Regions from separate parts of the Homo sapiens genome. Here region 2 is linked to region 1. The links are contacts of gene promoters, found by promoter capture Hi-C in human tissues and cell types (Jung and others, 2019). All regions are on one chromosome and are shown on one strand. Each heading gives the region's core, a stretch centred on a gene start or on the middle of the fragment in contact. The rest is flanking DNA. Distances are from core to core; before and after follow the strand shown.

Region 1 (6,735 bases), core at 2,612-5,111:
AGGCCAGCTTAGCCCTATCCTGGACGCTCTTAGGCAGCCCCTTTGGCTGGATCTTCAAGGCCTGGTCAGGACGCAAGCCCACCCTGCCAACCCCTATGGAGAAGAGTACAGCTCCTTCCTCAGGCAGCTGCAGAAGTGCAGAGGGTCAGAGATCACCAGGCACAACCCCCTTACGGGCACCACGGTGAGGAAACTGGGACTTGGGGAAGAGGAATTGACTTGCCCAAGGTCACGCAGAGTGGAGCCTGGTCTCTCCTAAGCCCTAAGTCAGATGGTGGGGGTAGGAGCAAATGTAAGGGGTCGAACCTTGCTTTCAGATCCCAGCTCTGCCACTTCGTAGCTGAACAGCCTGGGATTCACTGTCTTGCCTCTCTGAGCCTACACCTCCTCACCTGACCTGCCTTGTAGAGTTGTGTGTTAAAATGTTTATTTTCTTTCATGCCTCACAAGAGGAAATCTGGAAAATGTAGACAAATTGAAAGAAAAGGAGGACCGGGCGTGGTGGCTCACGCTTGTAATCCCAGCACTTTGGGAGGCCAAGGCGGGTGGATCACCTGAGGTCAGGAGTTCGAAGCTAGCCTGGCCAACATGGTGAAACCCCATCTCTACTAAAAATACAAAAAGTAATCCCAGCTACTTGGGAGGCTGAGACAGGAGAATCATTTGAACCTGGGAGGTGGAGTTTGCAGTGAGCAGAGATGGCGCTATTGCAAGCCAGCCTGGGCAGAGCTTCCTGCAGGCGTGAAAGAGAATGATGCCATGCGCCTGGCCAGAGGAGGCATGCGATAAAGGGGCATTCCCTGAGCCTTCCTCAGAGGACTTGGAAAGAGCTCTGGACAGGGAGCCAGGAGATCTGGGTTGTGGCCTTCATTCTGCCATTGAACTTGGTTGCCATCCTTGGACAGTGCCTGAGGTCCCTTTAAACAGAAGCTCCACAACAAATCCTGCTCACCCTGCACTTTGCAGCCCGGCCACAAAGCAAGCGGCCACACCCAGGGTTGGGTTTGGAGCTGTTCCAGGTCACGCCCTTGTAAAATGAGTAAGCAGAGGGCAGGCCTGCCCACGGGGCTGGGCCCCGGGCATCTGGGGATTGACAGGAGCGGGAGCTCTGGGCCTGGCAGGGCTTTAGGGTGGTCTGCTGCAAGGAGACTCCCCTGCTTCTTCACTTGTGACCCAGGCAAGTGACTTCCTTTCTTTGCTCAGTTTCCTTATCTGCAAGGTGCCTCATTCTGGACATCCTGACCAAGATAATGAACGTGAAGAGTGCCAAGCAGTGTCTGGCACACGAGAGGCACTCAGTAAAAGAGAGACCTTCTTGCTAAGATCACTGAGCCCTTCTGGGAGGGAGGTACAGACAGATGTACTTGGGCTCCTCTGGGAGGGTTCAAAGCAGTGTAAAACCACAGCTGTTACTGAAACTTCCAGTCTGAAAGCAGCTGGCCAGAGGAGAGTGGGCCTGCCGCAAAGCTCCCTTCCCTGGGGGGAGCTCAGCTCCTAAGTTAGGCAGTATTAAAAAAAGTCAAGGCTACATAGAGAAGAGCCTGCTGCCTGACCAGGTGCATTAGAGTAGCTAGCTCATGCCTGTAATCCCAGCACTTTGGGAGGCTGAGGCAAGAGGATTGCTTGAGCCCAGGAGTTTGAGACCAGCCTGGGGAACATAGGGAGACCCCTGTCTCTACAAAAAATAAAAAATAAAAGACAGAAGAGCTGACTGCCTTGTGAGTCCCATCACTCTACCCCATCCCCATCTCTGACCTTAGGTCACATCCCCTCTCTGAGCCTCAGTTTCCCCCTGTAACATGGAGCTATTAATGCCATCTATTTCACGAACTACAAAGATGTTTTAGGCTATAAAACACTGAACACAAGATACCCAATCCCAGTTATCCTCGGTTGCTTAACCTGTAAAATGGGGATAATACCATTCCTGCCCACTGCCCTCCTAGTTAGAAATCATGTGCAGGAAGGGTCTCCAGGAAGGTTAACGTTTTGAACATGGGCAAAGCCTGAGTCCACTGGCAGGGAGTGGTGGCTCTGCCTGCATCCAGAGCTGGCTGGGCATCCGTGCTTGCTGACTAGCACAGGTCTGACCAGATGCCTCTGGGGCAGTGGGGGGTGGTCTTATCCCTGTACCCGAACTTATTCACCAAACTCACAACTAAGCAAACCTACAACACCCCCTTCCTCTCCCTGGAGCCTGCTTCCAAAACCCAGGACCTGGAGCTGAATGTGGCTGAGAAGAGCTAGCCCCACAGCCACCCTGTGCACACACGCATTGTGAAGGAGAGAACACTGAAGCCCAGACTGGGTCCAAGACTTGTCCAAGGACACACAGAGAATTAGTGGCAGAGTCACACCAGAAACCAGGCTCCTCAACCACCACCACCTCCACTCCCCCAGGCTTTTCCCACTCCACCCCCCACCCTAAAGTTGTTTTGATTCACACGGGCTCCAGGAATTCCACTCCCACAAAACACACCCTGAGCCCAGGTCAGCAGGCAGCCTGGTGCCACTACACTTTGGGCCCTCTCTGGCAACGAGCCTGGGAGCTTGAGGAGAGAGCAGCCAATCTGAACAGAACCCAAGGGGGCTGCCCACATTTGTATCTGCTACATGGCTGTCTGGGAGGGAAGACTGGGCCTGGGGGAGGACCTAGGGCAGATACTTGGGGCTATCTCAGGAGCTGGCTGGACAATTTGGAGTCTGTCCATGGCAGATTGGATGTGAGAGACCCACTAGACCTATCCCTCTGTCTTACCAAAGTCCCACAGTGTCCCCAGGCCATACTCTTTGCCTGGACAATAGCAGGCACCCAGTACTGGTTTCTGGCCAAACAATGAAGTAATGAATGAATGGCGGCAACGCTGGCTGCATGGACTTCCCCAAGGTCACACAGTGCACTGGGAGTAGTGAGTTGGGTCTCCCTCCAGACTCGCAATCCAGTGCTCATTCCACTCCACTAGAATGGATGAGATTATTTCATCCAAAGTCTGAAAATGAAGGGGTCTTCTACTCAGATATTGGGGGCACTGGGTCCTGGAAACTGAAAGCTCATCTTCCCTCTTCCCAAAACTCTACCTGCTCCACTCAAACTGGATCTCAGGCACCCCTCCCTCCTTTCCCACACCTGGAAAAGCATAGGGGGAAGCGGTGGGGGCCCCCAGCATTACCGGCAGCCGGCCTGCCGGCAGGCATCGCACAACTTGGCCCTCGGGTCCGTGGGGAGTGGCGTCGAGGCAGGTGCCTGGCGCCGCTGCGGGAGGCGCCGTCTGCGGGTACAGCGGTGTGTAGTAGGTAGCAGTAGCTGGGCAGAGCTGGGGGCTGCTGAGGCCGGATGGCCACAGCTCTGTGGGGCTCATCGCGGGCACCACCTTCGGGGTCTGCCCAGCGGCCGAAGCCAAGGCCCGGGGCCCTTGCAGCATAGCGAGTAAGGCGCCCCCTACCCAAAAGGGCTTGGCGCGCCCGCGGACACCTGCGGGTTCCGGTGCTGCCGCCTTTCACACGGCCCGCGGCATGGCGCGGAGGCCGGGGGAAGCCGCCAATGGACGCCTGCGGGGCAAGGCCGGACCCTCCCCTCCTGGCCCGCGGCCGAGCAGAGAGCAGCGCTTAGAGATCGCCGCTTGGAGATCGCCCGGCGGCTGCGGTGGTGGCACTGCCAGGGGCTGTCTCGTCCCGAGGGCACCGCGACCCGGGACGCCCCGCGCTCCCCAAGGCCTCGGCACCTGGGGTCCGGCCGGCTCTGGGGAGGGGTCCCCGGCGTGCCCTCAAGCTCGGCGGAGACGCGATGCGCTGGGATGGGGAGGGGGGTCTCGACTGCACCGACTTCCTTGCGGCTCGCTCTCTAGTCCTTGAGTCTTTCTCTGCCTCTTTTTTTTCTTCTTTTTTTTTTTTTTTTAGCGCCAAACGTCGTGCCGCGAAATTCGGATCTCCCGCGGAAAATGCCGCGCTCCGGTTGGCTGCTGCGACAGTACAGGCTCCACCCCCCCCCCCCCCCCCGGAAAGAACGCGTCCTCGAGGCGGCGATTGCAACACTAGCTTCGCTGCTTAAAGGGGCAGCCACACCTGCTGTTGGTGCCGCCAGCCGCCGGCCGCGCTAGTTAGCAGCCGGCGAGACGGAGACAGAGGGTGGTTCCGGGATTCACAGTGCAGAGGCGGCCAGAGCAGTGCACAGCGCCCCGAGAAATGGGCCCGGATTCCCTGGGATTGAAGGGAAACATTTTGGCGCGGGGTCCCAGCCTGAGCCCAGACCCAGCAGTGTATTCCCCAGGCCACAGGCCCTTTTGTTAGTTTGCATTGTTGCTTAGCTAGCACATGTGCATTCATATCCCCTTTCCTGCTAAAATGAAGGCCAGGAACCTGTTCCCTTTAATGGCAGAGGGGTGAGGGACGGAGGCAAACTAGTCTACTTCTTTGTAGGGAAAACTAACATCTATTCAGCGCCTACAGGATGCCAGGCACCATGCTAGATCCTTACAAGCGTTGTTTTAGTTAATTTATTCCAACAATCCTGGGAAGAGGAATGATGATCCCCATGATAAAGACTGACAGTCTGAAAGGCTGGGTAACTTGCCCAAGGTCATACAGAGAGATTCCCTGATTTGAGAGCTGGCAACAGAATCTGGGACAGGTCCCAGCTCTGGAGCCCTTGTTTTTCCAGTTAAGGGGTTCTTCTACTCTCCCAAGCTGCCTGGGGGCACAGCAGGGTCAGAGTCCCACTGCAGAGCTTTGTCTTGTTCACAGTTGTATTATTAGGACCCAATACTCAGTAAATGTTTGAACATCTCTAGGTTTCTTTTAAACAATCCTTTTGTCACAAGAGCCTCTCTGCCTCATTCAAAAACCTTCATTGCTGATAATACATTCCTCATCACTCCGGTTTAGAGAGGCTCAGAGAAGCAAACTTGGGTAGTGAGTGGTAAAAAGTTGCTAGAAGCTGCTGCTAGATTTCAGGTCTGATTTCTTGCCTGGTGCTGTGTGATTTTTATGCAAGTCTGAGCCTTGGCATTCAAAGCCCTCCAGAGACAGTCCACAGCTTAATTCCTCATTAGATGGTTGAGGCCAAGGTGGCAATAACCCATGATGATTAAGAGCCCAGGCTTTGTAGCCAACAGCCCCGAATTCAAACCCAGGCCCAGACACTTTATTATTCATTGTGTGACCAAGGCAAATTTTGTAAATTCTCTGATCCTTGATCCTTGATTTTCTCCTCCTAATAGCACTTACCTCATATGATCATGAGGAAATCTCATGAGATAATGCATATAAAGCTTTCATCACAGAACCTGGATCATAAGGAGCCTCAAGAATTGGCAGCTGTTGTTATATCTCTGACTTTTTTTTTTTAGACAGAGTCTCACTCTGTCACCAGGTTGGAGTGCAGCGGTGCAATTCTCCTGCCTCAGGTTCAAGTGAGTCTCCTGCCTCAGCCTCCCGAGTAGCTGGGATTACAGGCGCCAGCCACCATGCCTGGCTAATTTTTGTATTTTCAGTAGAGGCAGGGTTTCACCATGTTGGCCACGCTGGTCTCGGACTCCTGACCTCAGGCAATCCGCCCTACTTGGCCTCCCAAAGTGCTGGGATTACAGGTGTGAGTCACCGCTCCCGGTCACATCTCTGACCTTATCTCCAGTGCATAAGACCCTTTTACTCTAGTCTACGTATCTCATTGGTCCTTTTTGGTCCTTTGAGGGCCAGCTTAAATCTCACCTCCTCCAAGAAGCCTCCCCTGCCTGCTTCCTCTCAGCCAGAATGGCTCTTACCCTCTTGGGACCCTTAGTGTGTTCTACCTCAACAAAACAAGGCTTCGTTTTCATACCTTGTTTATCAGTTAGGTTCTATGCTCCTTCAAGAATCTAGGTCAGATCTCTCTAGAATGCCCCTTAGCATCTAGGGCCTGGCTTGGAGTGCAGAAGGCAGGTAATAAATACTGATTATGATTCACTCATCTGCCTGGCTGCAAAGAATAGGAGAAGTTAATGAGATCTGAAGTCAGAAAGTCAGGAGGCCCAGATTAAGTAAGTCCCGCTCTCTACTTCCTAGTTAAGTGACACTGGACAGCCGCTGCTTCACTTCTCTTAACCACAATTTCCTCAACCATCAAATGTGGATAATGCTATCACTCAGTCAATTTCACATTACTTCAGAGACACTACTTAAATGACAGTGGTGGCGATGATCACTGATTTTTATTGAGAACCTACTATACACTGGGCTCTAAGCACCTTGAGCCCCTCCTCTGATCCTCACAACACTGCTCTGAGACGGACACTATTATTATCCCCATTTTACAGATGAGGGAACCTGGAAGGAATTGTGGCAGAGCAGGTTTGGGGAAGCAGCAGGGCCCCAGGGCCAGGGAGGGAAATGGGGGTGGCAGGGTGGAGCTGGGAGAAAAGAAGGGAGCCAGTGAGGGGCTGAGAGCCAGCTCTCTGTGGTTGAGTTTCGGGCAGCTGGGGCTGGCTTTAGAGTTTCACTGCCTGGGAACTGACTAATTCTTGCAATAGGTGTGGGGCACAGATCTGAAATCTGCCTCCCTGAGCTTGAATTCCTGCCCCATTCATTCCTAGCATTGTGATCATGGTCAGGTTGCTGGACCATTCTGAGTCTCAATTTCCTCATCTTTGAAATGGAGGCGGCACAAGTGACCTCTCCATTTACTGTGAGGCCTTAGTAAGGTGTTGGTTATAAAGTCCTTAGAGAAATGTCAGGTGCATGGTAGGTACTTAATATATTTTG
Region 2 (7,222 bases), core at 895-3,394, 140 kb before region 1:
CCTCCTGGGTTCAAGCAATTCTCCTGCCTCAGCCTCCTGAATAGCTGGGATTACAGGCGCCCGCCACCACGCCCGGCTAATTTGGACTTTCACTCTTGTTGGTCACTCTTGTTGATCTTTTGTAACAGACCTCTCTTCTCTTGCCTCAAGACTTATCTCCTACAGGAAGTATTCCCTGACTCACCCCTGAACACATCCTACTGGACAAGTTCACAGGAGTGAGCTGCAAGCAGGCTTAGCGGTCTAGTTCATCTTCCTTATTTTACTGGTGGAAGACCTGAGGCCCAGAGAGGGAAAGTCCTAAATATCATTGGGACTATTTAATGTTACATTTTCTCATCCTCTTAGCCTCATCATTCAGGTGCAGGAACCGGGTATCCCACAGTAAAGCCCTGGCATTTCCAGGTTTAACAGCTCCTGTTCTGGTTTTCTAAGGCTGTCCTTGGCTGGCCACGACATGTAGCAAGTCATTACTTTGCTGACAATCAGCTACGAATGATGTCAGCTGGGAATCTGTGGTGTGGGACGAGTTATGCCCGCCACCCTCCTTGGGTGAGCCCCAGCAGCCCAGCAGTCTGCCAGGCGGACACAGCTTAGCGCAGCCTGGTCACTGGAAAGCAGTGACGAGCAGAGAGAAAACTTTGCTAGTGGGCAGTTTACTTCTAGAAAGAAGTGAGGCACAGGAAGCGCATCACTCCACACGGAAAGGTGCTTGGGAGAGAGCAGAAGCTTGCACAAACATCTCCGGATTCCAGAACTGGAATTCTCCAAGGGACTCCTCCGGAATGGCAAGGCTGACTGCATTTCTGCCCTGGCCACAGAATGCCGCAGGCAAGGTGCTCTTGATAAATGGTGTGTGCCGAACAGACGGAGAACTCTGAATAGAGTTCTAGAATGACTAGACACCAGTTAGAATCCAAGGATATTTGTGCTCTAAGGGCATACCATGTGCAACCCAGAAAGAGGAGGCCATTCTCTGGTTTTAAGAGAAGGGGCCTCCACAGCCTTCCCAAGTTCCCCATGCCAGGGCAATGGTCTTCAACTTTAGGACTCAGAGCTAAAGCCCTTAGGCTTTATTGACCAAGTTAGCTGGATTGCAGGCAGAATGGTGTGGATCTTGTTTATTACTACCTCTGACATTGGCCTCCTTTCTTGGGCAAGGCTAAAAAGCCCATCTGTGGCCTGTGTGGGCCTCAGTTTCCCTGGGTGTGTAATGAGGGAGCTGGGTTTCACATTGCCAAGTTCCCTTCCAACTGTCTATGACTCTTCAGCCGCCATGAGTCTGATTCTTCTTATTGTCACGTCAGGGCAGACCAGAACACACTGACCAAGCCTCGTAGACACATAGCAGGGATGATTCTAAACTCAGAGGAACATTGTCTAGAAGCCACAGGTGCACCACATTAGTGTACCAAGGCTTGCCCTTCTCTCTGCAGCCTGGAGAGTTTTTAAGGTTTTCTTTGTTTTGTTGAGTCAGGGTCTCATTCTGTCACCCAGGCTGGAGTGCAGTGGTGCAATCATAGCTCATTGCAGCCTCAATTCACTGTAGCCTCAACCTCCTGGGCTCCAGTGATTCTCCTGCCTCATCGCCACCCATTTCCCCCGCATCCAGTAGCTGGGACTACAGGCACACACTACCAAGCCTGGCTAATTTTTGTATTTTTAGCAGAGATGACGTTTCACCACGTTGCCCAGGCTGCTCTCAAACTCCTAGGCTCAAGCAATCTGCCTGCCTCGGCCTCCCAAAGTGCTGGGATTACAGGCGTGAGCCACTGAGCTGGCCCAGCCTAGAGAGGTTTTCTTTTTGTTGTTTGTTTGGTTTGAGACAGAGTCTCCCTCTGTCGCCCAGGCTGGAGTACAGTGGTGCAATCTCGGCTCACTGCAGCCTCCACCTCCCAGGTTCCAGTGATTCTCCTGCCTCAGCCTCCAGGGTAGCTGGGATTACAGGCACGTGCCACCATGCCTGGCTAATTTTTTTTTTCTTTCAGATGGAGTCTCACTCTGTCGCCCAAGCTGGAGTGCAGTGGCATGATCTCGGTTCACTGCAAGCTCCACCTCCCGGGTTCACGCCATTCTCCTGCCTCAGCCTCCTGAGTAGCTGGGACTACAGGTGCCCGCCACCACACCCTGCTAATTTTTTGAATTTTTAGCAGAGACGGGGTTTCACCGTGTTTGCCAGGATGGTCTCAATCTCCTGACCTCGTGATCCGCCCGTCTTGGCCTCCCAAAGTGCTGGGATTATAGGCGTGAGCCACCGCGCCCGGCATTTTTGTATTTTTAGTAGAGATGGGGTTTCACTGTGTTGGCCAGGCTGGTCTCAAACTCCTGGCCTCAGGTGATCCACTCGCCTTGGCCTCCCAAAGTGCTGTGATTACAGACATGAGCCACCGCACCCGGCAAAGCCTAGAGAGTTTTAACGCTTTCTCCCCTCTGGCTCTTCCCTAAGCTTCTCTCTGATTTTCCACCTCTATGCCCCTGCGGCCTCCTGCACCTCCGGCCCGTCCCCTCACTGTCCTTACCTGGTTATAGGTGCAGTTCTTCTTCTTGCATTTGCTGCACTGGAAGAGGTCAGTGGTGGTGCCGCCAGTCTTGGCCATCTGGTGCTCACGGATGGCCTCCTGGGTCATGGCATTCCTCAACTCCCTCAGTTCATCACTGGCCATTTCCTGGAGAAAAAAGAGTCTACCCTTCAGGGCTGAGGAGTTTCAGGGGCCCTGCCCTACACCCGGTTTCTAGAAAGCCTGAACAGAAAAGGAGGTAACATGCTTTATTGACTGCAAGGAGCTGGAAGGAGGCCTGGATTCCGGGTCCTGCCCCAGCTGGGAGAAAGCTGTCCCCGCAGAGTCCTCCTGCCGCCCACGGCTGGAAGGTCATAATGCACATTCAGGTGAGCAGCAGGCAAACAGCCTCTGCCCGAGGACGAGCACTCCTGTGTACATTTCTTCAGATCTGGGGCTCATCCTGCCTGCCAGGACCTTGGCCTTGGCCTGAACCTTCCTGCTTGAGCTGACTTGATCACTGCCACCTGGTCTATGATGTTCCCCTTAGCCTTCCTCTCTAGACTTGACCCAGTGCTCTTTTACGCTGTGATCACTGCCCTGCTGTTCTGCTTAGTGGGAACCTTGGCGCAACTACCCATGACTTGCTGCTGCTACCCCCATCCTGAAGCTCCTGGGCTCACACAACTAACTGTTCATCTGATGAGCATGCATCCAAGATCATCTTTTTCTGAGAGTTTCTACAGAAGAGTCTCCAGTCTCCCACCAGCTCACAGTAGACACTCCGGGTCTGCATCACCCACACCTTTGCTTTCTCTGTCCATCTCCCTGGCCACTTGTCTCCCCTTAAGCCTCTGCCAGAGGACAGCAGAGAGGGAGCTCCAGTTAAGGGTTGGTGGAAGGGGAAGGAGGGTGGCTGACGCGAATCTCAAAATGAGGATTTTAAACTTTTTTTTTTTTTTTTTGAGATGGAGTCTCGCTCTGTCACCAGGCTGAAGTGCAGTGGTGCGATCTCGGCTCACTGCAACCTCCACCTCCTGGGTTCAAGCGATTCTCCTGCCTCAGCCTCCCGAGTAGCTGGGACTACAGGCTCATGCCACCACACCCAGCTAATTTTTGTATTTTTAGTAGAGACGGGGTTTCACCATATTGGCCAGGATGGTCTCGATCTCCTGACCTTGTGATCCACCCACCTCATCCTTCCAAAGTGCTGGGATTACAGGTATGAACCACTATGCCTGGCTTAAACATTTTAATTGTTGCTGTCTGTCCTGAGTCCTTAAACCATGGAGAAGAATGCTGGCATAAAGGTCAAAGCATTTTAGTGTGCTCACCTTTCATTATAACCACTTAGGCTTCTTGATAAAATGCAGATTCCTATGAATCTGAATTGCTAAGGGCAGGCCCAGGAATATGCATTTTTTAAAGTTCTTTATTTGGTTATTTTTGGGACAGGATCTTGCTGTCACCTAGGCTGGAGTGCAGTGGTGCGATCGTGACTCATGGCAGCCTCAACCTCCCCAGGCTCAAACGATTCTCCCACCTCAGCCTCCCAAGTAGCTGGGACTACACCCAGCATGCACCACCAAACCTGGTTAATTATTTTTTGTATATTTTTGTAGAGATGGGGTTTTCCCATGTTGCCTAGGCTGGTCTCCTGAGCTCAAGTGATCTGCCTACTTTGGACTCCCGAAGTGCCGGGATTACAGGCATGAGCCACTGCGCCTGGCCAGAATATGCATTTTCACTAGTGTCCTCAAGTTATTCTGGTACGTATTAATGTTTAAGTCCTAGTGTGTTAAATTCAAAGGCTAGGCCCTAACCAATGGCAGGAGAATATAGAAAAACAAGTCAATGAAAGCCATTTACCCATATGAGTAAAAAGTAGCTGACTTTAATTTGAGGGGATTTTCCAGAGCATAAAGCATTTGCCCATTCAAAATTTATTGGATGTGGCCAGGTGCAGTGGCTTACACCTGTAATCTCAGCACTTTGGGAGGCTGGGACAGGTGGATCACCTGAGGTCAGGAGTTGGAGACCAGCCAGGTCAACATGGTGAAACCCCATCTGTACTAAAAATACAAAAAATTAGCTGGGTGTGGTGGCGGGCACCTGTAATCCCAGCTACTTGGAAGGCTGAAGCAGGACAATTGCTTGAACCTGGGAGGTTTAAGTTGCAGTGAGCTGAGACTGCACCATTGCACTCCCGCCTGGGCAACAACAGCGAGATTCCATCAAAAAAAAAAAAAAAGCCAGGCATTGGTGGTGCATGCCTGTAATCTCAGCTATTTAGGAGGCTGAGGCAGGAGAATCGCTTGAACCTGGGAGGTGGAGGGTGCAGTGAGCCGAGATCACGTCACTGCACTCCAGCCTGGGTGACAGAGTGAGACTCCGTCTCAAAAAACAAAAACAAAATCTATTGGATGCCAATTTACTGAATGCCTTTAACTGTATCAGTTTGCAGGTAAACCAGCTTTGGTTGTGGGGATGCCTTGATTTGTAGTGTTTGTCAGCTTCCATGGGACAAAATGCTATGGTCAATGGGACAAAATTCCATGGCCAATTTCAAGCTGCTAATGTGATATAACTGAACGCAGAGTTGGGAAGAGCTACACATCACCAGCTCCCTTGAGCTGGTAGGAGCTAGCTCAAGCATGCTACTGCCTCTGAGTCCAACGGATTCAGAAAGGAAGATCTGGTTCCTCCTCCCAAGTAGTGCTAATCTGATAGGGTAGCCAAGCATTTACACGAGATTGCAAGAGAGGGAAGGAAGTACTAAAGTGAAGGCATATAAGGTGCAGGGGAAAGCAACAGGGTATGGTGGTTAACTGTTTGGGGTCTGGTGGGTCATGAAGAAGCTAGTACTTTAACCAGTCTTGAAAGATAGGAGTTCCTGGGGTGGGTGGTGGCACATTCCAGACAAATAAAACAGCAGGGCCGGGCGCAGTGGCTCACACATGTAATCCCAGCACTTCAGGAAGCCGAGGCGGGCAGATCACCTGAGGTCAGGAGTTTGAGACCAACCTGGCCAACATGGCGAAACTTCGTCTCTACTAAAAATAGAAAAATTAGCCAGGCATGGTTACATGGTTACAGGTGCATGCCTGCAGTCCTAACTACTTGGGAGGCTGAGGCAGGAGAATCTCTTGAACCTGGGAGGTGGAGGTTGCAGTGAGCTGAGATTATGCCATTGCACTCCAGCCTGGGTGACAGCCAGACTCCATCTCAAAAGAAAAAACAAAAAACAAAAAACAGCAGGCACAAAAGATCAGAGGACAAGAATAGCATGTTTGGGGAAAAGTATTTGGGGTAGGTTCAAGTCAAGCATGGGAGATGTGGCTGGAGGTCAGATTGTGGAAGGAAGGTCTTGTGTGCCAGCTAAGAAATAGAGAACAGAAAAATCTATCCAGCCACACGCCAATTCATTGACTTCTCTGCCCTGCCTCATTAGAATGAGGCAGCATCAGAGACACGGAGAATAAATACAACACTGTAGAAAATAAGGTGGAAAATGAAGGAAATGAGAGTCAGAGACCACAATTCTATCCCTATTTGTTGAGCCCTGTGATGTACCAGACACTGTTGTCAGTGCTGGGTGGACTGTGAATGCCGGTTCTCAGGGGACTGACAGGATGCTATGTCCACTCAGCAGCGCTCATGGGTATCTCAGAGCCTACTCCATTCTTTGCTATGTCTGAGTAGGGAAGAAAAGAGAAGAAGAAAGAATGAGGGAGTCAGGTAAACAAGGAAAGAGGCATAAAAAGGGAGTCAGGGAAGGGAGTTCTGAGAGAGACACCGTCCACATGGGTTCCTGATGGGCGCTTCCCCTCACAGCAGGCAGCCCAAGCCCAAGCTAAGATTTTTCTGTTTTTTTTTCTTTTTTTCTTTCTTTCTTTCTTTTTTTTTTTTTTTTTTGAGATGGAGGATCTCAGCTCACTGCAACCTCTGCCTCCTGGGTTCAAGCGATTCTCCTGCCTCAGCCTCCCGAGTAGCTGGGACTACAGGTGTGTGCCACCACGCCCGGCTAATTTTTGTATTTTTAGTAGAGACAGGGTTTTGCCATCTTGAACTCCTGAGCTCAGGAGTTCTGCCCACCTCGGCCTCCCAAAGTGCTGGGATTACAGGCATGAGCCACCTCACGTGGCCTGTTGAAATCCTAACCCCAAGGCAATGGTTATTAGGGGGTCTTTGGGAGGTGATTAGCTCTCAAGGGCAGAGCTCTGGTGCAGGGGATTAGTGCTCCTCTAATAGGGGCCTGAGAAAGACCCCTCCACCATGTGAGGTTACAGTGAGAAGATGGCTGTCTATGAGGAAGCAGGCCCTCACTAGACACTGAATCTGCTGCTGCCCTGATGTTGGACTGTCCAATCTCTAGAAATGTGAGAACTAGGCCAGGTGTCATGGTTCACGCCTGTAATCCCAGCACTTTGGGAGGCTGAGGCAGGTGGATTATCTGAGGTCAGGAGTTTGAGACCAGCCTGGCCAACATGGTGAAATCCCATCTCTACTAAAAATACAAAAATTAGCCGGGCATGGTGGCACACCCCTGTAATCCCAGCTACTCGGGAGGCTGAGGCAGTAGAATCGCTTGAACCTGGGAGGTGGAGGCTGCAGTGAGCCCAGATTGTGCCACTACACTCCAGCCTGGGCAAAAGAGTGGACTCCATCTCAAAAAAACAAGCAAACAAAAAAAAAGAAATGTGAGGAATAAATGCCTGTTGTTT

The links. Contacts are between HindIII fragments. The study calls those that stand out against the background at their distance.
Region 2: a fragment that was not itself captured here is called in contact with the fragment with the promoter of E2F2 in region 1 in 1 of the 25 tissues and cell types used here (bladder).

What each region holds. Positions count from the first base shown.
Region 1 is chr1:23,527,372-23,534,106 of GRCh38, forward strand. E2F2 (E2F transcription factor 2) reads right to left here and starts at 3,862. Exons shown (of 7, transcript NM_004091.4): 1 at 3,171-3,862. The coding sequence starts at 3,422. LOC101928163 (a long non-coding RNA gene) reads left to right here. Exons shown (of 3, transcript NR_110799.1): 3 at 34-1,048. RefSeq lists silencers at 916-1,112, 3,268-3,416, 3,954-4,093 and an enhancer at 1,131-1,260. The HindIII fragment of the contact is 9,154 bases long and covers 1-6,533 here.
Region 2 is chr1:23,384,754-23,391,975 of GRCh38, forward strand. It overlaps TCEA3 (transcription elongation factor A3), which reads right to left. Exons shown (of 11, transcript NM_003196.3): 9 at 2,520-2,666. Among named protein-coding and RNA genes, the nearest start is that of ZNF436, 19 kb to the left of the region's middle. The HindIII fragment of the contact is 6,654 bases long and covers 1-5,471 here.